2 separate regions of the Homo sapiens genome follow, and region 2 is linked to region 1. The links are contacts of gene promoters, found by promoter capture Hi-C in blood cells and fetal thymus (Javierre and others, 2016). All regions are on one chromosome and are shown on one strand. The core of a region is centred on a gene start or on the middle of the fragment in contact, and the rest is flanking DNA. Distances in the headings are between cores, read along the strand shown.

Region 1 (2,518 bases), core at 9-2,508:
GGGCTCCTGTAATCACAGCTAGGAGAGAGGATTGCTTGCGTTAGAGTCCATCCTGGTCAATAACGAGATACTCTCTCTAAAAACAAAACAAAACGAAACGAAAACTCAGCAGGCCACCAACTAGGATACTCCCTAGGTCAAATGACCGAGCCTCTAATTCTGTGATTGTTGTTGCTGTGCGCACGTTAATAAAACAAACAAACAAACAAAAAGTGAAGATGTTTAGAAAGTTTACAGTACTTTGGCATTGTCCTGATAATCCAAGCTCCTGATCAGCAGATTCTATTCAGCCAGGTATAGGGCAGTTCGAGTGTTGTCAAATTTGTGATTCCCATGAGGCCAGGCTGCTTACTGGTAATGCATAAAGGACCACATCCTGGTTCGCGAAGAGTTTGGGGGTAGAGGAAAAGGAGGGAGAAACTGATCCTTCATCACAGGTAGTTTGAGAGCACTGATGTAAACTATAGTCACACTTTTGTAGTATAATTGATTATTATCCTCAATAGATCATTTACACTAAGTCGGAAAAAAGTGGAAACATCAGATATGTGGGATATGCGTCACCTTGTACATTTCTCAGCTGGAAAAGTGTAAAACATCTCAATTTTGCACCTCCCTTTTCAAACATGTCTTTGGCTAAATCAATGTTGGCTCTAACCGCTCGTCCTAGAGCGAGTCCCGCCATCTTGTGGTTGAAGATGTTGACTGCCACAGAGAATAGCGGGCTTTGACATCAACAGTTCTGATTGGGTAAAAAGACCCTCGTCTTGGGGTAGTTCTCTTTTGAAGTCCTAGAGTCCGTCACACACAAACGCCTTCTTCCCGGTAAGTCCATTGTAAACAACGGAATGGACTTTAGGGAAAGGAAAGGAAAACGTGTTCTTTAAGACTCTTTAAATAGCGTTTTCACCCATTAGCAGAATTCTCTGATTCATGAGCAGCACTAAGTAGATACCGTGTGCGTGCATTTTGAATGAATTCATTTCTACACTATTTTATAGGAGTATTGAATAGTTGGGAATTGGAACCCCTCCAGGGGGAACCAAACATTGTCGTTCAGAAGAAGACAAAGAGAGATTGAAATGAAGCTGTTGATTTCAACACACAAATTCTGGTGGTAGATGAAAGCAAAGCAAGTAAGTTTCTCCGAATCCCTAGTCAACTGGAGGTAGAGACGGACTGCGCAGGTTAACTACAGCTCCCAGCATGCCTGAGGGGCGGGCTCAGCGGCTGCGCAGACTGGCGCGCGCGGACGGTCATGGGACTTCAGCATGGCGGTGTTTGCAGATTTGGACCTGCGAGCGGGTTCTGACCTGAAGGCTCTGCGCGGACTTGTGGAGACAGCCGCTCACCGTGAGTTGCCCCGGCTTCGCGCCTGGCCAACCTCATGCCACCCAGACCATCGGGCCACACTCCGGAGTAACTATTTCCTGATGGGTCTCGGTCAGGTCTCCCAGAGTCTCTGGGATGTCCCTGGAGGCTGATGCCCGCCGAGGTGTTGGTCTGATTCCTAGCGCGGGAAACTCGAAGGTTCTGGGGGTTGTTATCTGGTTCAGCTACTTTCCTGCAATGAGGGAACTGAGGCCTAACGAGGGCGAGGGATTTGCATAGGGGCCTACAGCTGATAGGTGACAGAAGCCGGAGCTGGACTCCAAGGGTACAATCTTCTAAGCTTCTAAGTTACTATCAGCCCTTCCTGATTCTCACGACAGTGTCTAAACAAATACTGGAATTTGGGGCACGGACAGGAAGCGCCGTGGAGGCTCGGAGAAGGAGGAGGACGTGGGAGTGTTGGAACAATACTATCTAGACAGAGAGAGGGTAGGTGGGGGCAGAGGACATACACAGCGGAGTGGAGGTGGAGGAGGAGGATAGCATGGCCCAAATCGAAGGGAAGCGAAAGCCTTGAGAGACGAGAACCTGTTTTAACTATTGGAGTTAGTCATGGGTTCTGTATTCCGTAGACTGTAAAGTGTTGGAATAGAGAGATTAAAAAGAATCAAGAGGTTCGTGTAGTAACATCTGCTCCTCAGAGACAGTTTTCAGCTCATTGTGAGTTCTGATTACTGATACTGTTCAGAGGTGGTGCTAGAAATGACAACCACTTCTTGGCAAAGTGAATCACACCACTTTTTTATTGTTCTCTTTATGAAGTATCCGTGGCGAAATGACTGTCCCTTTCCACTGCTGCCACTAAATGAACGTTATCTCTGTGGTACTTTGCTCATCAGCACGAAGACGAAAGTAGACATGATGATCTGGGCCATTTGGCGCTAATGTTCTTTGATCCTGTAAAATAAGTTTTCCTAGGTGTAGTTTGTCGCAATTATTACCTCCTCAATGAGGCTTTTCCTGACGCCATCCCATTTTTGAATAAATCATGAGCTTCCTAAGAGAATTGCCATGTCTTATCCTTTTATTTACTGTGCTTAACACGTTCACTCTGCAGGCACCAGTACATGGCAGTTACTCAGTTAATGCTTGTGGAATAAACTGAACACATTAAAAAAATTAATAC
Region 2 (2,518 bases), core at 12-2,511, 1.0 Mb after region 1:
AGAGGGAGTGCCACTTCTCAGCGCAGTAGGTCTCCGTGAGCTCCGCGTTCCCGTCCAGCCCGTCGGGGTCGGGCCCGGTCCCCATGGGTCGCTCCTCGTTGGGGACCAAGGCCGCCTTCCTCTTGCCCTCGTTGGTCTTCCTCTCTGAGGGGTTTTCTTTGGGCGGTGCGCTTTGGGGAGGCGGGGTCCCAGCGGCTGGGCCGGACGCACGCTCCCGGGTCCGCCCCCGGTTCCGGGCCCGGGGCTTGGACTCCCCCGCGAATCCCGCGACGGTGGGGCGTGCGGGCGGGGACGCGCGGGGCACTAGCCGCAGCTCGGCGCCGTGGCCCTTCTTGCCCGCGCACAAGCGGGCCTGGAGCGGCGCGGGGTCGTGACAGGGCCTCCGCTTCTTGCGCAGCCCTCCCAGCACCTGCTTCCAGAAGTGCGCGCGGCGAGCGGCGTAGGCTGCGCAGCGCTCCGGATGCCCGCGGTAGGCGCACTGGTGGCGCGCCCCGTCCGGGCTCTGGCAGCGCAGCGCCAGCTCGCTGCCCGCTGCGGCCTCCGGGGCGGGCAGCAGGAGCTGCCAGCTGCACGCGTGCTGCTCGGGGCTGAGGAAGCGACCCGAGGAGCCGCCAGTGGGCCCGGGGACCGGCTCCGCCACGTTGCTAGCCGCCCCTTTCTCCCTCCGAGCAGCCGCGAGGAGGCAACCACTCAGCAGCAGCAGCAGCGACGGCGACAGCGACGCTCGCAGCTTCGGAGGAGTCATGCTCCGCGGTTTCCGCGCTCCGCTGTTCTCAGACCACGTTTGTCGGGGCTGGACCAGGCAAAGAGCATTCCCCAGGACCTGCGGACAGAGGCAGAGACTGCCACCAACTGAGCCACACGCAGCGCTTCGCCCAGACACATGCACCTGCGAACTACTCTTCCGCAGACTTTCTAGAATCTGCAGCCTGCGAGGAGACCCTCTGAGGAGCTTTCCTGGGGAAACTGCTTACTGTCTAAATAATCACTTTCGAACCATGTATGCATTGAGATTTTCTTCCCCTTGCAAATACGATAGCAAAACGATGCGTGATAATTGCCCCCTCTACCCCTTCCTTCATTTTCTCCCTTCTCCAACCTGCAATAAACTATCTACAAAATCATTTCAGATGATTCCTTGGAAACATGCACTTTACTACACTTTGAACTTACCGAGTTCTGGGAGAGGCGCCAAAGCCTTATTAGGGTAGAGGGAACGACTGCACGGGGGAGTAGTCTGTTTTAGCCGGCTCCCTGTGAATGAACGTGGTATCAATGGAACAGAAGAGGCCTACCCTTCTTCGCCCCTCCCCGATTTCTCTCACACTGGGAGACTTATCACCGCCGCGCTTCTCTCTCTCTCTCCCTCTCTCTCTCTGTCTCTCCAGATGGATGATGGAAGCGGTCCTGTAGTATGAAATACAAATCTTGTATTTTGCTTCCAATGTTTAAAATAATCAGGCAAAATTAACCAAGTTTTTCTTCTTTCATGTACTTAACCATCCAAAAAATAAAAATTAAACAAAAGATCTAAGTTTTAAAAGTTAAATAAAATGAAACAAAACAAACTTCAGTATTCTAAACTAGGCATTTTTTACACAATTATATCATTTACATTCTATTTCTCATATTCTGAGTTCTACATTTTTACCTATTATTTCCAATAGCCTTTCTTAAGACTCTCAATCTTAATAATTGTTACTACTAATAAAAATATAATATCCTAGTTTATTAACATACAATAGTGCCCAGCAGTTCACCCAGGAGTGGACATTTGGGCTTTTTATTATTTTTAGGTATTAGAAATCAGTTATAAGGGTCCTCCAAAAATTAGAAGTTTAAAAAAATTATTTGTATTATAGTAGTTGAACGGTAAGATTACCAATTGAAATGGTATAATAGTTAAGAATGTGAGACCAGCCTGGCCTGGTGAAATCCCGTCTCTACTAAAAATACAAAAATTAGCCAGGCGTGGTGGCAGATGCCTGTAATCCCAGCTACTCAGGAGGCTGAGGCAGGAGAATCACTTGAACCCGGGACAGGGCGAGACTGCCTCTCAAAAAAAAAAAAAAAGAGAGAGAGAATGAATGTGTTCTTGAATCTTGAAAATGTTACATTTAAGCAAAGCTGCTTTTTCTGGAGGGGGGGATTGTGTGTGTGTGCGGGGGTTTGTTTGTTTGTTTGTTTGTTTGTTTGTTTTGAGACGGGAGCTCACTCTGTCACCCAGGCTGGAGCGCAGTGGTGCTATCTCGGCTCACTGCAACCTCTGCCTTCCCGGTTCAAGCGATTCACCTGCCTCAGCCTCCCCAGTAGCTGGAATTACAGGTGCCTGCCACAACACCCAGCTAATTTTTAGTGGAGAAGGGGTTTCACCATGTTGCCCAGTCTGGTATCGAACTCCTGACCTGAGATGAGCCACCTGCCTCAGCCTCTCAAAGTGCTGACCAAGCAAAGCTGTTTTTTCTTTCTTTTTTTTTTTTTTTGCTCTTTTTAAAATTTTTATTTAGAAGCCTACTTG

Evidence for each region. Contacts are between HindIII fragments. The CHiCAGO score rates a contact against its expected background, and 5 or more counts as called.
Region 2: the fragment with the promoter of FGFBP3 here is called in contact with the fragment with the promoter of RPP30 in region 1 in 10 of 17 cell types (activated CD4 T cells, fetal thymus, naive CD8 T cells and 7 more); the score reaches 14.0 in activated CD4 T cells.

Annotation. Positions count from the first base shown.
Region 1 is chr10:90,870,716-90,873,233 of GRCh38, forward strand. It overlaps RPP30 (ribonuclease P/MRP subunit p30), which reads left to right and starts at 1,259. Exons shown (of 11, transcript NM_006413.5): 1 at 1,259-1,353. The coding sequence starts at 1,272. RefSeq lists enhancers at 1,097-1,391, 1,110-1,379, 1,510-1,569. The HindIII fragment of the contact is 10,238 bases long and covers 1-1,670 here.
Region 2 is chr10:91,908,225-91,910,742 of GRCh38, forward strand. It overlaps FGFBP3 (fibroblast growth factor binding protein 3), which reads right to left and starts at 1,262. Exons shown (of 2, transcript NM_152429.5): 1 at 1,174-1,262; 2 at 1-823. The coding sequence starts at 745. It overlaps FGFBP3-AS1 (FGFBP3 antisense RNA 1), which reads left to right. Exons shown (of 2, transcript NR_199602.1): 1 at 1-25; 2 at 673-1,124. RefSeq lists a silencer at 135-704 and an enhancer at 608-902. The HindIII fragment of the contact is 14,773 bases long and covers 1-2,518 here.